2 separate regions of the Homo sapiens genome follow, and region 1 is linked to region 2. The links are contacts of gene promoters, found by promoter capture Hi-C in blood cells and fetal thymus (Javierre and others, 2016). All regions are on one chromosome and are shown on one strand. Each heading gives the region's core, a stretch centred on a gene start or on the middle of the fragment in contact. The rest is flanking DNA. Distances are from core to core; before and after follow the strand shown. Region 1 holds the start of TYK2 (tyrosine kinase 2). Region 2 holds the start of S1PR5 (sphingosine-1-phosphate receptor 5).

What was found. The method cuts DNA at HindIII sites, captures the fragments that hold promoters and counts their contacts. A CHiCAGO score of 5 or more calls a contact.
Region 1: a contact is called between the fragment with the promoter of TYK2 here and the fragment with the promoter of S1PR5 in region 2, in 5 of 17 cell types (non-activated CD4 T cells, naive CD8 T cells, fetal thymus and 2 more). The highest score is 8.5, in non-activated CD4 T cells.

What each region holds. Positions count from the first base shown.
Region 1 is chr19:10,377,739-10,382,051 of GRCh38, reverse strand. TYK2 (tyrosine kinase 2) reads left to right here and starts at 1,480. Exons shown (of 25, transcript NM_003331.5): 1 at 1,480-1,672; 2 at 2,273-2,437; 3 at 3,626-3,838. The coding sequence starts at 3,646. RefSeq lists enhancers at 851-1,514, 1,423-1,582. The HindIII fragment of the contact is 15,548 bases long and covers 1-4,313 here.
Region 2 is chr19:10,515,621-10,520,136 of GRCh38, reverse strand. It overlaps S1PR5 (sphingosine-1-phosphate receptor 5), which reads left to right and starts at 2,690. Exons shown (of 2, transcript NM_030760.5): 1 at 2,690-2,739. RefSeq lists enhancers at 783-1,345, 4,213-4,516. The HindIII fragment of the contact is 9,669 bases long and covers 1-3,872 here.

The DNA.
Region 1 (4,313 bases), core at 231-2,730, 140 kb after region 2:
GCCCTGTGAGGAGGCTTTTTACCCATATTTTCTGACTCAGAGAGAAGCAGCCACATGTCCCTTGGCCATGGCAGTTAAGACCAACTCCATGGAGCTGGGTGTCTTAGCTCACATCTGTAATCCCAGCACTTTGGAAAGCCAAGGCAGGATGATTGCTTGAGGCCAGAAGTTCAAGACCAGCCTGGGCAACATAGCCAGACCCCATCTCTACAAAAATTTAAAAATTAGCCACAAAATTTAAAAATTAACAACAAAAGGGCCGGGTGCGGTGGCTCACGCCTGTAATCCCAGCGCTTTGGGAGGGTGGATCACGAGGTCAGGAGTTCGAGACCAGCCTGGCCAAGATGGTGAAATCCCATCTCTACTAAAAATACAAAAATTAGCCGGGCGTGGTGGCGGGCGCCTGTTGTCCCAGCTACCCAGGAGGCTGAGGCAGGAGAATCGCTTGAATCCGGGAGTCTGAGGTTGCAGTGAGCCGAGATCGCAGCATTGCACTCCAGCCTGGGCGACAAGAGCGAAACTCCATCTTAAAAAAAAAAAAAAAAAAAAGTGGAAGATGAGGAAGTTGATCAGACATCAAGGATGAGCGGATGACTTAATAGGCTTCTTTGCTAAGACTTGGCTGGGCAGGTGAAAGACAAAGTCGAGGAGTGGTTATGGTGTGGCACAGAAGAAGGGTCAGAGGACGGTCTTTGTTACCTCTTCATGCCTGAGTTTCTTCCTCTGTGAAATGGGGATAATAAGAGCCGCCATACAGGGAATTGCTGCTAGGATCAAATGAGATAATGTATGTGAAACGCTCTGGCTGTAGGCTTCTCAGCAAATGGGCACGACTTGCGGAGTGGGGATTTGAATTCACGTCTGGCGGGATGTCCAAGCTGCTACCCTGACCGCTAGGGAGCTTCAGAGGACAGGGCTGCAGGTGATCAGGAAGAGGACTGGGGCAGGTGGGCGAGGAATGCCTCCCAGGAGTGAAGGAGGGGGAATTCTAGTCAGCAGGATGGAGTCGGCCAGGTAGAAACGAGGGAAAGGAGACAGGACCGGATGGAACGGGGAAGCCAAAGGGCAGGGCGTCGGAGGGTTGAATGGTGGCCGGTGCAGCTTTGAACACCGAGGTGAGGACATGCAGCTGTGTCCTAGGGTCAGGACCGTACACGCCTGACCCAATTCCACAGCACGGAGGGGAACTCCAGGATCCGGCCGCGTTGCCCACACACTTCGCTCTCCCTCCCGCCTCTCGCAAGCCCCTCCCCCGTCTCCGTCCACCGAGTGCCAGCCAATAGCAGAAGCGACAGCGCATCTGGGTGCCGACTCAGCCAATCGCGGCTGAGTGACGAATGAGCCCCAGGACCAATGAGAGTGCCGCCACCATGGCAAAAAAAAAAAAATCCAATGGTGACGAGCAGGGAGAACAGAGCAGCTGCCAATGGGCGTGTGCGTTTCAGGCGGCCAATGGGAGGAGGCGTCTCGGCGGGGGACAAGCAGTAGCTACCCGCGGGAGCGGGGAGGGGTCCGGGTTCGAGCTTGTGTTCCCCCGGAAGGGTGAGTCTGGACGCGGGCGCGGAAGGAGCGCGGCCGGAGGTCCTCAGGAAGAAGCCGCGGGGACTGGCTGCGCTTGACAGGCTGCACTTGGATGGGAGCACCTGGTGCCTCGGGACTGCTCCGATGCCCGGTGGGTGCACATCCCAGTTCCCGCCGTTGCCGGCCGGGTTTAGAGGTTTTGGGGGGAGGACATGGGGGCGTGCAGCCTTCCCAGTTGCAAACTTCACTCCGACCCTGTCTTCAAAGCTGGGTCTGGGTCCAGTGGGGACGAGAAAGGAGGAAGGAGGAAGTAGGCTCCGCGAAAGCCCCATCCCCGGGATCTCATCTATAACATGAATAGGTATTAATGGCAAAGGCTAATTAAGCGCTTACTGTATACCAGGCACTTTCTCTGCCTCCTCGCGTTAAATCCTCCCAGCAGCCTTTTGAGGTAGACACTGTTACATGCCCATTTTCCAGATGAGGAAACCAGCAACATGGGTGGAAGTGACAGCCCCTCCACTTCCATACTGGCGCCCTCAGGAGGCTCAGGCCCTGGATTGGGGGGATGGAGCTGGACATAAACTCTCCTAGGCTTTGGGGAGTCAACAGGGACTGAGGTCACTCATGGGGGTAAATGTGGGAGAGGAGAATTGTGGCCTGAAAGAGGCCATCACCACGATGAAACTAATAACAATTATGTTATTCTTGTTTTGGTCATATTTGTTCTTTTTGTGTGTGCCTGAATCAGGGTCTGTGCTGAATGTGTAATATGCGGAACTATATTGAAACATTACAACCATCTTTTGATGGCAACACCCTGAGGACCTCCCTTTTCCAGATGGGGAAACTGAGGCCCAGAATTGCTAAGTGGCTTGCTTGAGTTGACACAGGGAGCTCCAGGACTCACCCTCAGGTATGTTTGACCACATCTGCCTGTCTGGTTATTTTGGGGAGGTGTGTTAAGAGCAGATTTTTATTTTACTTTTTATTTATTTATTTATTTATTTATTTATTTATTTATTGTATTTTAGTAGAGATGGGGTTTCACCATGTTGGTCAAGATGGTCTCAATCTCCAGACCTCGTGATCTGTCCGCCTTGGCCTCCCAAAGTGCTGGGATTACAGTCATGAGCCACCGCGCCTGGCCCTTTTTATATATTTTTATTACTTATTTATTTATTTATTTATTTATATTTTTAGAGTCAGGGTCTCACTCTGTCACCCAGGCTGGAATGCAGTGGTGCGATCACTGCTCACTGCAGCCTCCAACTCCTGGGCTCAGGAGATCCTCCCACTTCAGCCTCCCGAGTAGCTTGGAGTACAGATGTGCACCCCCACGCCTGGCTAAATTTTAAAAATTTCTTGTAGAGGCCGGGCACAGTGGCTCACGCCTGTAATCCCAGCACTTTGGGAGGCCGAGGCGGGTGGATCACCTGAGGTCAGAGGTTCAAGACCAGCCTGGCCAACATGGCAAAACCCTGTCTCTACTAAAAATACAAAAATTAGCCCGGTGTGGTGGCAGGCGCCAGCTACTCAGGAGGCTGAGGCAGGAGAATCACTTAAACCCAGGAGGCAGAGGTTGTGGTGAGCAAGATTGTACCATTGCACTCCAGCCTGGGCAACAAGAGTGAAACTCTGTCTCAAAAATAAGATAAGATAAGATAAGATAAGATAAGATAAGATAAGATAAGATATAAAATAAAACGTCTTGTAGAAACAGGGTCTTGCTATATGGCCTAGGCTGGTCTCGAGCTCCTGGGCTCAAGCAATCCTCTTGCCTCAACATCCCAAAGTCCTGGGATTAGAGGCGTGAGCCACTGTACCTGGCCAGAGCAGATTTTTATATCTGTGTCAATTTGTGGAAAGAGAGGAGGGTTCAGTGTTATTGTTGATGAGAGATCTAGGTGGGGATGCATACCCCAACCCTGTCCAATAAATGTGGAAAACGAGACTCAGAGAGGGAATCGGGTCTCTAATGTCATGCCAAGATGGGAGCCCAGAATCTTCCCCTCAGGCCTTAGCTGGGGTGGGTGGAAGGTTGAAGAGCTAACAGGGGTCTCTGGGCTGAGACTTGGGAGCTGACAGATTGTCCCCTTTCCAGCTGAGCCACCTGCCGGGAGCATGCCTCTGCGCCACTGGGGGATGGCCAGGGGCAGTAAGCCCGTTGGGGATGGAGCCCAGCCCATGGCTGCCATGGGAGGCCTGAAGGTGCTTCTGCACTGGGCTGGTCCAGGCGGCGGGGAGCCCTGGGTCACTTTCAGTGAGTCATCGCTGACAGCTGAGGAAGTCTGCATCCACATTGCACATAAAGTTGGTGAGTCTGGGGCGTTGGCACCATGGGGACTGGGGTGGGTGTGCAAGCAGCAGCTGGGCCCCATCCATCCGTCTATCCACCCACCCACCCATCCACCCACCCATCCACCCACTCATCCATCCATCCATCCATCCACCCATCCACCCACCCATCCACCCTCCCAACCACCCATCCATCCACCCACCCACCCATCCATCCACCCATGCATCCATCCATCCTCCCATCCACCCATCCACCCACCCATTCACCCACCCATTCACCCATCCACCCACCCTTTCACCCATCCACCCATCCACCCATTCATCCACCCACCCACCCACCCATCCATCCACCCACGCATCCATCCACCCACCCACCCACCCATCCATCCACCCACGCATCCATCCATACATCCACCCACCCACTCATCCATCCACCCACCTATCCACCTATCCATCCACCTACTCACCCACCCATCCACCCACCTATCCACCCA
Region 2 (4,516 bases), core at 1,441-3,940:
AAAACTGTGAGCCCTTAACCTTTAGGAATCTGGGCAGAGGGACAGACCTGCCTTCCTGGAGCTGAGGCTCTAGGTCAGAGATACACATTAGGAAAGATGAATAAATAAATGAAATGAACAAGGTGGCCGGGCACGGTGGCTCACGCCTGTAATCCCAGCACTTTGGGAGGGGGAGGCGGGCGATTCATCTGAAGTCAGGAGTTGGAGACCAGCCTGGCCAACATGGTGAAACCCCGCCTCTACTAAAAATACAAAAATTAGCTGGGCGGGGTGGTGCATTCCTGTAATCCCAGCTACTCTGGAGGCTGAGGCAGGAGAATTGCTTGAAGCCAGGAGGCGGAGGTTGCAGAGGCGAAGTTTGCAGTGAGCCCAAATCGCACCACTGCACTCCAGCCTGGGCAATAAAGGGAGATTACAAAAAAAAAAAAAAAGCAAAAGCAAGGTGATTTCAGATAATGCCAACTGCCATTTGAGATGAGGGACAGATCAGGGAAGGTCTCTCTGAGGAGGTGACCAGCTGACCAGCTGGGAAGGGGTGGGGAGAAGGGTGCTCCAGGCCACCTGGCCCCCAAGTTCAAAAGTCTTGAAGTGTGTGTGGAACTCGGAGGAGCCCGGGAGGCAGAAGCAGAGTGGAGCAGAGAGAGGCACAGAAGTAACAGAAAGAGACAAATCAGGACGGCATATGGCCTTGTCCTTGCGGGGTCCTCACTGAGGACTTGATCACTTACTCTGAGAAACACAGGGAGCCACGGGAGGGTTTGGAGCAGAAAAGAAATGTGATCTGAGTTTTAAGAACTGTGGCCAGGAGTGTGGAGTGGCAGCTAGGGATGGGACTCCCAACATCTGTCGAGATCCTGGAGCCTGAGTCCCCAGGGTCCCAATTCGTGGGAAAGAAGTTCAGGGAGGCAGCTGGAGAGGCAGGTTGCTGAGCCCGGGACCCGCAGCCGGAAGAGCCCCATTTTCGAGAGAAGTGAGATTGGCGCCTGGGAGGTGTGAAGCAGCCACCTCCCCACCCTGGGGCGCGGCTTCCCCTTTACAGAAGGAGGTCATTTATTGAGCACCTACTGGGTGCCAGCCACAGCCATGCTGGGAGATCTTCAGGGGTCATCCCAGTGGGCACCATTGGAGTTGGCTTGGTCCACAGGACTGGGGAACCTGGCACTGAAGGGTTAACACCGTCCCACCCTGCGGGTCCCATTGGCTGTGTCTTTGAGCAGAGCAGGCAGGAAAGGTTCTGCCCACCGAGGGAACAGCGGGGGCAGGAGGGCTGGGATCCCCAAGGGGCTACATGGGGGCCTGACCCGGCCTGAGTGCCCCCTGAGTTTCCTCCCACGAGGGTATCCCGGATCCACACTTATTCTCAGCCTCTGGCTCATCTCTCCTGGGGCGCCCTCACCCCACCCGCGGCCAGCAGGGCCTGAAGCATCAGGGGCAAAGGGCACGGTCCTGGAGAAGGTCGCAGCAGCGGGACCCAGCCTCCCTTCCTGAATCTGAGGGTGGAAGAGCTGGGACCGTCTGGAAGTTCCTGGGAAGTCGGGGTGGGGGCGTTTCGGGGCCAGCGGGACTGGTCGTTGGAGGAGCAGTGGCCTGGGAGAGGCGTGGGAGAGCATCACAGACAGCAACAAAGAGACACGCAGAGGCAAAGAGACACGCAGAGACAAAGAGACACGCAGGCGAGAGACTCTGAGATCCTCCTGAGAGAGATACAGAGGAAGTGAGGGAGACACTCATTCATTATCTGGGCATGGTTGCAAGCGACTGGAGTCCCAGCAGCTACGTTCAGCCGGCTGAGATGGGAGGATGGCTTGAGCCGCGGAGGTCGAGACTGCAGTGACTTATGATGTTGCCACTGCACTCCACTCTGGGCCACAGAGCAAGATCTTGTCTCAAAAAAAAAAAAAAAAAAGAAATTCTTACATTGCTGGGGTTTACTGTCTGCTAAGGACACAGCCCAGAAACACCATTAATGAGTAAATCACTTTGTCGTCAGCGATAAGGGTGGGAGAGAATCGGTCGGGGGAACACGGAATCCAGGGGGTGGGACAGGAGAGACCCTCCTTATCTGAGGAGCGGCAAGTTCCCATCACAATCCTGCCCGGGCCCGCCCCACCCCCACTCGCCCTGAGCCGGGGGCGGGAGCGGGAAATTGGGAGGGGCCTGTGCCCGGGAGCAGCGGGAACCTATCTGCTGGTGGGAGAGGACTCAGGCTAAGGTGGCCCCCACTGAAGACTCCTGCTAAGCAACCCACTGAAGACCCCTCCGAATCATCGACGGGGCGTCCTTGGGGTGCAGCCCAGGAAGCTCAGTTCACAGGTGGGTGGGCAATGGGAGGGCGCAGTGCCCGGACACCCAGGACAGAGGAGACCCCTCCGCTGGGGAGAAGAGGCTCAGGCTGCGACCGCCCTGCTGCAGAACCCTCCCTTTCCCGCCTCTCCGAGTCCTCCCACCGCGATGGAGCGTCCCTGGGAGGACAGCCCAGGCCCGGAGGGGGCAGCTGAGGGCTCGCCTGTGCCAGTCGCCGCCGGGGCGCGCTCCGGTGCCGCGGCGAGTGGCACAGGCTGGCAGCCATGGGCTGAGTGCCCGGGACCCAAGGGGAGGGGGCAACTGCTGGCGACCGCCGGCCCTTTGCGTCGCTGGCCCGCCCCCTCGCCTGCCAGCTCCAGCCCCGCCCCCGGAGCGGCGTCCGCTCACTCGGTTCAAGGCAGCGCGACTGCGGGTGGCGCACGACCAGGGCGCAGAGTGAGTGGACTGCACTGGACCTTTGGGGGCGCTGGGCTGGGCCTGACCCGGAGGGGGTCGCCCTGGCGGCCACTTTCCCGGTCTAAAAAGGCGCACCACTCCTTGCAGGGAGTTCTCCGAACTTTTCCTGGAGGCCTCTGGGGAGGGGGAAGCTGGGGGCTCCCCAGCTGGGTGCAGGACCTGGGATACGGGGTGAAGGTGGCTGGAATCCCCTGGCCACCCCCTCCTGGCCGGGCCACTGCAAGTTTCCATACTTCAGTCCTGCTGCCGGGCAAGCTGGGCGGATGGGGTTGGCCTCCCCCTCAGAGCATGTGTAACCCTGTCTCCCTGTATTTGGGCTCCCCACCTCCAGCATGGGTGAGCCAGCGACTTCCTGTCTATGTTTGCCTGCCTTGATTCTCTGTGTGTGACTGAAGCTCTCTGGGATGTCCGCATCCCTGCCTTGTGCAAAAGAGATCCATTCCCCTCCCCAGGCCTTGGCTTTCTCATCTGGACTTGCATGGGGACTATTTGTGCATGGATGTTTGTGTGGGAGCATGGAAACCTTTGCGCCTGCTTCGATACGAAGCATTTCTTTTGAGCTTCAGTTTTCTCATCTGTAAATTAGGACTAAAGGAAGTGGGGATTAATAAGGTCACAGAGGCAGGTGAGGAGTGTTATTACAGTTTAATGACATGTGTGCCCCTCTGTAAGAGTCTGTTTGCCTCTTGTGGATTCTCTCTCCTGTCCTCAGGCTCTGCCTTAGTAAAATGAGTGAATAGGATCAACTTTTTTTTTTTTTTTTTTTTTTGAGACGGAGTTTCTCTCTTGTCACCCAGGCTGGAGAGCAGGGGTGCGATCATGGCTCACTGCAGCCTCGGCCTCCCAGGCTCAAGTGATCCTCCCGCCTCAGTCTCTTGAGTAGCTGGGACTATAGGGGCATAACACCACACCTGGCTAATTTTTAAATTTTTTTGTAGAGATGAAGTCTTAGTATGTTGCCCAAGCTGGTGTCGAACTCCTGGGCTCAAGTGATACTCCCACCTCGGCCTCCCAAAGTGCTGGGATTACAGGCGAAAGCCACTGTGCCTGGCCAAGGAGCAACTTTCTCATGGGGTTTTGGGTGGATGAGGGGGTTTTGGCAGGAAAAAGCTTTGTATGCAGTGAGACAAGAGTGTGGAGTGTGGTGCACTGGGCCCCAGGCTAGTGTGAGTGGAGGTTGTGAAATTGTGGCCTGTGCCACTGGGTGGGAGACCCTGTATTCGTGTGACTGAATTTTGGTCGCTGTGTTTTTCTGCCTGCGTCACTCTGTTCCTGTATGATGTATTTTTTAGTTTCCCTGATAGTGTGTGACTGTGTGTTTTGCCCTTGTAGTGTGTCGCTGTATTTGTGTGTCTCTTTCTGTGTGTGTTGCGTTTGTGTGCGTTCTGTGTGTTTACTGTTACGTCTCTGGAACTCCCTGCTTGTGTGTTTGTGTGTGTGTGTTTGAGACAAAGTCTTGCTCTGTTGTCCTGGCTGGAGTACAGTGGCACAATCAATGCTCACTGACTGCAGCCTTGACCCCGCGGGCTCAAGTGATCCTCTCACCTCAGCTGGGACTCCACTGAGTAGCTTGGACTATAGGCATACACCAACACGTCCCGGCTAATTTTTGTAGAAACGGGGTTCTCCTATGTTGTCCAGGCTAATCTCGAACTCCTGGGCCTCAAACAATCCTCCCGCCTCAGCCTCCCAAAGTGCTGGAATTACAGGAGTGAGCCACCACACCCAGCCGTGTGTGTGTTTGGTGGGGAGGGGG